4 separate regions of the Homo sapiens genome follow, and all the other regions are linked to region 2. Evidence: promoter capture Hi-C in 16 types of primary human blood cells and fetal thymus (Javierre and others, 2016). All regions are on one chromosome and are shown on one strand. Each heading gives the region's core, a stretch centred on a gene start or on the middle of the fragment in contact. The rest is flanking DNA. Distances are from core to core; before and after follow the strand shown. Region 1 overlaps FGF12 (fibroblast growth factor 12). Region 2 holds the start of ATP13A5 (ATPase 13A5). Region 3 has its middle 51 kb from the start of FGF12. Region 4 overlaps FGF12 (fibroblast growth factor 12).

Region 1 (2,700 bases), core at 88-2,587, 720 kb before region 2:
TTTCAGGATTTTGCCACTGTATAAACAAATAAATAATAAAGTTACTTAAGAATTTTAGGCTTGGAAGTAGGCACAAAGGAAGCTAGTGTTTTGTGGAAGTTTGGAGGCCAAGTAGGAGGGCTGGGAATAAACTATAGGTTATCTGGCTGTGCTTCCCAGGTCCTTCCTAATTAGCATTAATGGGTAATACATAGTTGCAGTGTCACACAGGACAGCAGAATTTTTTTGAGATAATTGATTGCTACTAGAAATTTTTGAGAAATAGAGTTTATCTGTTGCCAAGAATGGCTAAAATCTGATCTGGATCTAAATGATAAAAAAAATAAATAATCTCCATATCAGCAACCCAATAGCACTTTGAATTTACATATGATTTTCTACAAGATATTTTATTTAAGCATAACAATAGCTCTGTCCTACTCTGGTATCTTGCCACAGATGGGCATTCAATGTATCTTTAAGAAGGGACACAACAAATGATAGCCGAGTTAAGGATTAGTCCCATTTTATAGATGAAAAGCAGAGGCTTACAGTGATTGAGGAAAAGTGACAGAGTCAGAAATGTTCAACGTGAAGCAGAAGAGAGGCTTCTTGAACGTAGTCCGTTCCTTTCCCCACACCACCCTGCATCACAGTTTGACAGACCTGTGTACCACTCCTTCCCTTACATGTAGAAACTGGTTATGGTTTTCGTATATTCAACAGAAAGAGTGTCCTCATGATATTTCTCTGATAAATGCTAGCTATGTATAGAAACCCACAGCTAATCAGCCACTTCTGACAGATCAGTGTGAAAAAAAAAATAGTCAACTAGATTGATGGACCACATTTTTTACTTTTCAGAGGAATGTGACAGTTTTCCCCCTCATTCCTTGGAGCAATGATAAAGAATCCTTCCAATTCTGTATTTGAGCACAAGGAACAAATTTTAGGAGTAATAACTCAATATTAATATAGTAAATTTTGCTGTATAGATTATGAAACATCTTCTTAAAGTCCTATTTTGTATATGGTGTATAAAACATCGATGACATAAATTCCACTCAAAATTCTCTGTGTGCAGAGACATCTGCTGCCTGGCCAATATCTATTCTCACTTCCTCCTTATTAACACAATCTCTGTATTGTTGATAGCAACAATGTGCCCAGCTACATATCCTAGCCACCCTTGTAGATAGGTGTTAAAATTTAAACAATTTTAAGAGGGACTTCAGAGAAGCAGAAAGCATTCCATTGACAGGCCTTTCTTTTTTTCTACATCTCTATTTCTAAAACTCAGATGTGATGGTTGGAGCTGCAATAGACAGACAGACATCTTTAGACCATGACTTGACCTTGAGGATGGAAGCTACAGAATAGGAACGCAGAATAGAAGGATTGAGAAAAACTGAGAGGCTGATGAAATCACAACATCACCATACCAGCCTCTTGACTTCTACATCAAGGGAAAATTAATTCTATTTAGTTTACAAGTATTACTTAGATTTCTGTTACTAGTTGACCCATTTAATCATAACTGATGAGTCCCCCAAAATATAAGTAAAATAAAGAGCTAGAAAATTTTGATTAGGACTATATTTTGAAATTAAAGAGCTACTGAGTAATAGATGGACGAGTGTCCCATGCTAATATGGCCTAGAAGAAGAAGATGATTTTCCCTAAATAAGGCAACCAGAAATGAACGTTATCAGGAGTCTGAGTCATGCCAGAAAGAAGATGATGATGTTTGCAAACCCGCATAATGATGCAATAGAGATGGGGGAATGGGAAGAGGTGAACACAAGCATGAGGATTTTAGAGCGAAAGGTCAGTGAAGCCATAGGAAAAGAAGCTGTTTGGGACTGGAGGGGAAGAATAACTAGCACTCCAGACACATGGGCCGAGAAAAGAAACGTTACATGCCAGAAAAGAAATTCCCTCATCCAGGAGGTTCAGGCAAAAAAAAAAAAAAAAAAAAAATTCTTTTCCTTGCAGTACCTAGCACAGGACTTTTTAGAAGGGTATGCACTCAATAAATGTATGTTAATTAATGTACAGCCATCCAAAAAATCAGTGACGGAAGCTCACCTGGGAAGCCTTACTCTCAAAATACTGGATAAAACACACTGTTTCATCCCAATCCTTTCTTAGTATCCTTTAACTGTCACTAAACAACACCTAAATTATAAGGTGAAAAGACACACACACACACACACACACACACACACACACACACACAGAGAGAGAATTATAGTAAAGCAGATACATGTAGTCAAAGCCTCATAGCACAAAAGGAATGAGAATTTAAACACACTCAGCATTCACTTGTGACCACTATTTAAAACTTCATGCTCCATATTTACACATTTGTTTCTCTAGTGCAGTGGTTCTCAGCCGGGGTGATCTGGCCCCCAGGGACATTGAGCAATGCCTATATCTCTGATTGTTATAACTGGGGTGGGAGGAGGGGTGCTACTGGCATCCAGTGGGTAGAGGCCAGGGATGCTGTTAACCAACCATCCTGCAATGCACAGGACAGCCTCCCACCTCCAAACCAAAGACTTAAGCCATACATATCCAGTAACAATGCCAGCTACTTCAAGATTATGGCATACTCTCTCCAATGTTGACAGTCTTTTAGTTCATGTAATATTTTTCAGAGTACCCAACAAGAAAACACCTAGCAGTGTAGGCTCATGAAAATGTAATGTGTGGTCTGTA
Region 2 (2,700 bases), core at 34-2,533:
TACTTTTTTTTACTAAATTCTTCAAAATCTGGTGCGTATTTTACACATAAAGCATATTTTGTGTGGACTAGCTACTTTTCTAGTGCTCAGAAACTACACGTGGCCCATGGCTGCCTTATTGAACAACATAGATGTAGATGAAATCATATGTTTTCCTTAGAGTAGCAAACAGGGATAGGTGGAGGGAGAGCCGGTATGGATTTGCCCCAGATCTCACAGGGAACCAGGATGCCAGCCAGGAAACTGACATCATTCTAATCTACAAACCATGTTCTCCAAGTTCTTTGGGGCCCCCAAATGTGCCCTCACTCTGACCCTTCCCCTGTCTGTCTCTGTCTCCTTTCTTCATTGTCTAGCTGGAGCCACTGTTGTATGGTGAACAGCACAGGATGTGGAGAAGGAGTCGGCTGGATTCCCAGCCTGTCCCTTGCAGGCTAATGACCTTGGGCAAGTTATTTAACCTCCCTGGTCTCAGATTTCTTTTCAATTAAATAGGATTAGTTCTTTCATCACTGAGGTCTGAGGATTATATAAAATCATAAATATAAACACCTCAGCACCAAATAAACACTATAGTTTTCAACTTTTTAATTATTATTTTTAAATGTGTGTGTGTGTGTGTGTGTGTGTTTGATGAAAACAAGAGTGGGGAAAAAATTGGAGACATGAGAAATGTTTAAAATATGTGTTAAAAATCCCAGGCCACATTCTACTCCTTCTTTAGTAATTGATGCTTAAAACTTCTCTCTGCGCTTATAAAAAGCATGACTTCAGCCCAGAGCCCCCTAAGCCTAGGTTATGCATACATACCCAAAGCACGAGAATAAAAAAGAGTTCTTGTTTTCAATAGAGTTTGTTCCATCACATAGCAATCCAGATAATAAGGGGGAGACACCCCACTGAGCACCATGCGGGGCTCTGCAAATACTGTAAATGTGCGAGGAAACATCACAGGTTCATATGAAGATGGCAAGAATTCTATCATCCAGAGGTCACAAGTTTCTCAGCCCCTGCAGGTTTCCCCACAATAAAATGGTGCTTTGCAGCCCTTAAGGAACCTTACCAGACTGAAACCTTTCAAGGTCCTAAAGCCTGAAGCATAAATGCTACACTCTATTTTCTAATTCAGCTGTAGCCCATACTCACCGCCTTGGGCTCTTTGAGAAGACTAATAAAATAAAGGGAAGACTCACCAGTTCATCCTCCTCTCCCTGGTTGAGCAAAGCCCGATGGTCCTTCTTACTGTTCTCTTCCATCTGAACTCAACCGGCGAGGATCTCTTCTGGCTAACTCCTTGGAGAAATGTCAAAATCCCTTGGGCTTCTGTGAACTTGGAATCGTCACAACTTGTGATTGCTCTTCCCAGGCGCTTTTAAAATCTCTTAGTACACACCTTGCCTATTAGACTAACAAAGGAAAGAGAGAAAATCTTCTCAGGAACAGGATTGGTCTGTTAATCTGGTTATTGTGGGTTTTTTTCCTAGTGTTTGTTTATTGAGCTAGATATGAGTGCCTCAAGACCTGAGGAATGACGGGGGAAGAAGTTGGCAAACTAGAAGGAGAAATCATTTTGTATGCGATCCATAAATGTCTCAGCCAAGGAATGAGAATAGTCACTTTGCTAAAAACCTAAGATAAAAGGATTAGCCAGTGAGAGATGTATAAAAACCCTGCAGACTTTGAAAAAGTAATGAACATATTGGGGGTGACAATGAGAATTGAAGGAAGGGAGGTAGGCTCATGATAGAGAATGTAGGAATCATTTTGGAATTAGAAAAATCTGAGTTCTAATCCGTGCTTCACTGAAGACCCTGGACAAATCACTTAAAATCTGGAATTTCAGTTTCTAGTACATAAAATGTCAATAATAACTATACAGTAATATAAAGATTTAAGATGATAGTCATAAAAAGCCAACGATAGCACCCACCACAGTCACTAAGAGAGAAATAATCATCATCATAATCATTACACTAACCAAGAAGAAAGAGGCTTTAAAAAGTAAACTATATTAATAACTTGATTCTTTTCATTTTCTCTTTAGAGTTTACAAAAGTTTTCAAATGAGCAAAGTATGTGGAGGGAAGAGATGCTAGAAAGTCCGAGGATTAAGGATATAGCCCAAATTTCAACACCACTGAATTTGATATTTTGATTAGAAAATAGGTATACTGTGATCCATTCCAGAGTCAGTTAATTTGTTTGTGATGAAAACTTTTGTCATTTTATTGGCTCTTATTGTATCCTTGCACTTTGACTATGGAAGAAAATTTGCTGGGAATGAAAACTATTAGGGATGATACTTGGCTGTTTCTGCTGACTGAAATAGACACTGATTGCCTTGAGCAGGCATAAGTGTCCAACTTGGTGTTCAGGAGAGATCAACGTGCTCTCTGGCCAGGAGAAAGTGGCTGATGAGAATAAACAGGAAGACAACTAGAGCTCTTCATGCCAGAGGCTCCCGAGGTACCCATACTGAAGTATAATGTGCCGGTGTGAATGTTGCCTTGTAAGTAGTACCAATCTAAGGTAAAATGCATATTTGAAGAAAGGAGTTCTGGATTTTAGTAAAACTTCATTAAAGACACGAGTGGTGGCTATCATTCACTTCTTACCCATCCGCTATTTACTTGTATTTCTTGCTGAAAGAACCCCAACTTTGTGCAGCATGACTTCAGCTAAAAGCACCAAGATGAGTCA
Region 3 (2,700 bases), core at 198-2,697, 600 kb before region 2:
AGTTAATCTATAGATTTAACACCATCACAATCAGTGCTGGCATGCTTTGTGTATCTGTGAATATTGATAAAAACTGATTCTGAAATTTATATGAACACACACACAAAACCTACAATAGCCAAGACTGTCTTGAGAAAGGACTTACACCCCTAGAGTTCAGGACTTTAAAGACACAGTAATTAAAAGTGTGGCATTGACATAAGCAGAGAGACATTAAACATAAAACACAATAAAGTGTTCATGAGTGTGTGTGTTTGTGTGTATGTTTGTGTGTGGTCATTTAGTTTTTAACAAAGGTACCTCAGCAATTCAGAGAGGATAAGATGATCTTTTAATAAATTGTACTAGGTCAATTGGACATCCATATAGAAAAGAAAAACAACCTTAATCCCAAACCTCACATCATACAAAAATTTAATTTAAGGTAGATTATAATAAAAATTTAACTTAAGATAGATTATAAATCTAAATAGTAAAAGGTAAAACAATAAAGCTTTTAGAAAAAACAAACGAGAATAATTTCAAGACATATTTGTCAGGTAAAGAAATTTTAACAGAACACAAGTAACAATTATCATAAAAGACGAGAGAACTTGTGGCCTTTTTTTTTTTTTTTTGAGATGGAGTCTCGCTCTGTCGCCCAGGCTGGAGTGCAGTGGCACGATCTCGGCTTACTGCAAGCTCCACCTCCCGAATGCACGCCATTCTCCTACCCCCATTGTATCTAGGAAGTAACTAGCTTGCTTTTGATCTAGGAAGTAACTAGCTTGCCTCCTGAGTAGCTGGGACTACAGGCACCTGCCACCACACCTGGCTAACTTTTTGTGTTTTTAGAAGAGATGGGGTTTCACTGTGTTAGCCAGGATGGTCTTGATCTCCTGACCTCATGATCCGCCGCCTTGGCCTCCCAAAGTGCTGAGATTACAGGCATGAGCCACTGTGTCTGGCCGAGAACTTATGGACTTTAAAAGCTTCTGTTCATCAAATACATCATTAAGAGGATAGAAAGAATAGGCAGAGAAAGATGTTTAAAATACATTTTAGATAAAGGACTTGTTTCCGAAATATATAGAGAACAATTACATATTAATAAAGAAAGACAAAATAACACAATTTCAAAAATGGGCAATAACTTGAACAGGCAATTTACCAACAAAGATATAAAAATATCCAGTAAGTGTAAGACAATCTATTAAACACCATTGGTTATTAGAAAATGCAAATTAAGACCGGGTGTGGTGGCTCACGCCTGTAATCCAAGCATTTTGGGAGGCCAAGGCAGGTGGATCATGAGGTCAAGACATAGAGACCATTCTGGCCAACATGCTGAAATCCCATCTCTACTAAAAATACAAAAATGAGCTGGGCGTGGTGGTGTGCACCATGTAGTAGCAGTCTCAGGACTGAGTAGTCCCAGCTACTCAGGAGGCTGAGGCAGGAGAATCGCTTGAACCCAGTAGGTGGAGATTGCAGTGAGCTGAGATGGCACCACTGCACACCAGCCTGGTGACAGAGTGAGACTCCATTTCAAAAAAAAAAGAAAATGCAATTTAAAACTATAATGAAACACCTGTATGTACCCACCAAAGTGACTACAAATTAGAAAAAAAAAAAAAAAACTATCAACACAATGTGTTGGTAAGAATGTGAGACAACTGGAAATCTCATACATTCATGGTGGAAGTATAAAGTGATACAACACTTTAGATACCTGGAATGATCTACTATCCTCCGAGTCAAAAATTCTATTTCTAGGTATATACCTAAAAGGAACAACTGCATATGTCTAACAAAAAAGTGTGCGAAATGTGCATGTCAGCATTCTTCCTAACCATAAAATACTGCCAAAAATAGCCCAAAGCTGGAAACAACCCTAATGTCCCCAGATGGATTGTAGACATAAATTCGAATTAGAAAAATCATAAAGCTTTTAAAAGATAATATAGAAGAATGACTTCAACTATCAAGTTAGGAAGAAATTTCTTTAATTTGTTATTTATTTATTTTATTTTACTTTAAGTTCTGGGATACATAAACAGTGTGAAAAGATTGATATACTTTATATTAAAACAAAATTAAGACCTCTGCTTTTCAAAACATAAGCAGAGGTCTTAATTTCATTTTAATATGAAAGAGAATGAAAAGGCAAGTCACAGAGTGGGAGAAAATATTTGAAACATTTTTAAGTAACAATCTACTTTGGTTTTATGTCCAAAAGGTTTGAAGGTATGAGTACTAGGAGACATGGATGAAAATATCCACAATAGTATTATTAATAAGTAAATACTGGGGACGAGTTAAATATCCATCAACAGCAAATAGTTAAATAAATAGTGGCATGTTTATATAGTGGAATATCAGACAGCATTGGAAGTTAACAAACTACTGCTTCCTGAAACACCATAGGTGAATCTCACAAACATAAAATTGAGTGAGAGAAACCAAACATGAAAAAATGATTCCATTTATACAAAATGTTAAAACACAGTCAAACTAATCACCTAAAAATGCAGAGGGCTACAGAAAAAACATAAAGAAAAGAAAAAGAAGAGATTATCATAAAATTGGACACAGTTATATTTATTAGGGGAAAAGAAGGTTGGAATTGGGAAGAAGCATAGATGGGCTGAGGGTGCTGGATAAGTTCTGTTTCTTGACCTCAGTGGTGGTTAAATGGGTGTTCACATTTACAAAAATTTG
Region 4 (2,700 bases), core at 179-2,678, 920 kb before region 2:
CTCCAGTTGGATCTAGCTTAGATATTTATTGTGTCCTCCATATCAGTTAACTTTTCTTTCATATTTTCTACCTTCCTTCTCTGCATTATTATGACCTGGGTAATCACTTCATATATGTCTCCCTTTTCATTTATTCTTTCTTTTAGCTGTGTCTGATATACTTCCAAACCATCTATTGGGTTTTTAATTTCAATTATATCTTTCACTTTTAAAAGTTGTATTTGATTCTTTTGGGAAACTAATTTGATCACATTTGAAAATCTTTTGTTCCTTCTATATCTAAACTTATAAATTTTACTTTTAAAATATTTTATACATAGCTCTGTATTATTCTGAAACTGACCATTCTAATATATGAAGTTCTTGGTTCTTGAAGGGTCATTAAGAATGCCCCCCCCTTTTTAAAAAAAAAATTTGGAGAGTTTGGTCACATTTAACTTCAAGGTCATATCTGATTCTATCTAATATCTTTACATTCTGAGGATCTATTTGTCTCCTAGGGAACTGAATTCCAAAATGGAAGTAAAAACACTTTAATTCTTTAAGGTATTATTAGAAAATGATTAACTATGTTTGCTTTCCTTCAGAGAATATTTGCATTTTTTTTGTCAGGATTTAGTACTGATCTGTGATCACTTTTGCTTGTTTTATTGGGGGATGAGGGGATGTCTCTTGCTTGGCTTGGGCTCAGCTCTCCTAGCATGAAGACCCATGGGATTAGTCTCCCAATTTCACGCTCATATTGATCTTTGCCTTGATCAGTTAGTTAGCAAAATCCATTTGTTTAAATCAAATTTAACTAATCTGGGTTTAAACTTTATTTCTCTATAAACTTGAAGTATTTTTAATAAGTATAATATCTATGTAAATAATACATATTTAGGACCAAAGATATTTCTTTCTCTCCATGCAATACTTTTGGTCTATTATTTCCTTTCTAATCAAAATTTGGCAAAAAGTTAAAGATGTATATCTACATTTCTCTCCTTTTTTTTTTGTTTTGTTTTTTGAGATGGAGTCTAGCTCTGTCGCCCAGGCTGCAGTGCAGTGACGCAATCTTGGCTCACTGCAGCCTCCACCTCCCAGGTTCAAGCGATTCTCCTGCCTCAGCCTCCTGAGTAGCTGGGACTATAGGTGCGTGCCACCATGCCTGGTTAATTTTTTTGTATTTTAGTAGAGATGGGGTCTCACCGTGTTAGCCAGAATGGTCTCAATCTCCTGACCTCGTGATCCACCCACCTCGGCCTCCCAAAGTGCTGGGATTTCAGGCATGAGCCACTGCGCCAGCCTACATCTCTCTTAACAAGAAAGGCCTGCATGTTCTATTTCCACAGTCCTTATCAAAAACACAAAGATTTTCCTGTTTCGTCAGCAGAATAAAATGAACATGGGGAGTGTCTGGTACAAATACAGTCTAGAAATGTTATGCACTCAAAAAGAGAGATACTTCTAAAATAAGGAAAAATAATTGAAAAGTACAAGGAGAAAAAAAAATTCAGGAATAAAAGGCTTACTTCATAAACCTAAAAAGGGCTTAAACCTTGTAGTCTGATAAACATGGTGCAAGGAGAGAAACACAGCAAGGTGTCAAAGGCATACTTCTCAGACTACATAGTTCCAGCCCTTTTCACACGGCAAAGAAAGTTTTAGAAAATGACAAAGGACACAAAACCATTAGCGATAATTTCACCAAAAATTTAAAATGATACTGATTGTTAATTACTACAGATCTGAGGAGAAAAAGGTGTCACACTAGAGAACAGGCCAGGTGACACATTCAGAAGATGTCTGGTACATAACCAGACAATCAATTGTGAGCTCAACAATAAGACGGACATTACAAGGCTCAACATCTATTCTGGATGTCTGTGGGCTTGGACATCTCAGTTTTTACAATATTTCCACTTTCTCTAATAATTATTTTAATTATTAATTTCAAATGGGGAGAATACTTTTTTAAAAAACTCCCCCAATTCTCAATGTATTTTCTCTTACTGGTGAGAAATTTACTTTTACTGAACTTCTAACATCAAAGCTAAGCCATAAGACTTATTGCTTGGAAAAGAGTGGGCAATTACTTCCTAAAATTAAAAGCCTATAGAGTTGGAAAGAAGAATAATATGATGTACAGAAAGTTTCCACCACATAAAATGCAGACATAGAAACTCTTTGGAGGAGAAATACTGTTTCGGAGAGGGGACAAGAAGAGGATCAAAAGCTCTCTGAGCCTCTTAGGTTTCTGATGACTCTGTCACTCTAGTTCTCAACTCAGATGGGGTGATGACAAGAAGATTGAAACTCTTGATCAGGAAGAAACTGAGAGTACAGAAGCCTTTGGACCCAAATCTTATGTGGAATTCTGGGAAGAGAAATAGTTGCAAGGAAACTCTGCATCAACATGGTGTACCTACAGCAGAATAGAAATGATAACATCATATATTTAGACAGAGAGATGGTCAGGGCTGGCCCCTTCTGCACACAGGATCTCTTTAATCTCTACACAGTTTATTGTGTTTATGGGATTAGATGCAATGATAACATTTTATAACTTTTTTATTTAACATTATATGCTAAATATAAACATACGTGTTGTTATAAACTTTTTATAACATTATCAATAACTGAATAATATTCCAATGATTTGCTCTAATGCACTTAGTCTTTACCATGCTTCTGCATATTTAGATGGCTTTAAGTTTC

What was found. Contacts are between HindIII fragments. The CHiCAGO score rates a contact against its expected background, and 5 or more counts as called.
Region 1: a contact is called between a fragment that was not itself captured here and the fragment with the promoter of ATP13A5 in region 2, in 1 of 17 cell types (M1 macrophages). The highest score is 5.2, in M1 macrophages.
Region 3: a contact is called between a fragment that was not itself captured here and the fragment with the promoter of ATP13A5 in region 2, in 1 of 17 cell types (M1 macrophages). The highest score is 8.0, in M1 macrophages.
Region 4: a contact is called between a fragment that was not itself captured here and the fragment with the promoter of ATP13A5 in region 2, in 1 of 17 cell types (naive B cells). The highest score is 5.0, in naive B cells.

The regions. Positions count from the first base shown.
Region 1 is chr3:192,654,104-192,656,803 of GRCh38, forward strand. The region is part of intron 2 of FGF12 (fibroblast growth factor 12); the gene reads right to left. Among named protein-coding and RNA genes, the nearest start is that of FGF12, 72 kb to the right of the region's middle. The HindIII fragment of the contact is 2,815 bases long and covers 1-2,700 here.
Region 2 is chr3:193,377,470-193,380,169 of GRCh38, forward strand. ATP13A5 (ATPase 13A5) reads right to left here and starts at 1,284. Exons shown (of 30, transcript NM_198505.4): 1 at 1,194-1,284. The coding sequence starts at 1,256. The HindIII fragment of the contact is 6,128 bases long and covers 1-2,700 here.
Region 3 is chr3:192,776,897-192,779,596 of GRCh38, forward strand. No RefSeq gene overlaps it. Among named protein-coding and RNA genes, the nearest start is that of FGF12, 51 kb to the left of the region's middle. The HindIII fragment of the contact is 956 bases long and covers 970-1,925 here.
Region 4 is chr3:192,453,048-192,455,747 of GRCh38, forward strand. The region is part of intron 2 of FGF12 (fibroblast growth factor 12); the gene reads right to left. Among named protein-coding and RNA genes, the nearest start is that of FGF12-AS2, 61 kb to the right of the region's middle. The HindIII fragment of the contact is 7,026 bases long and covers 1-2,700 here.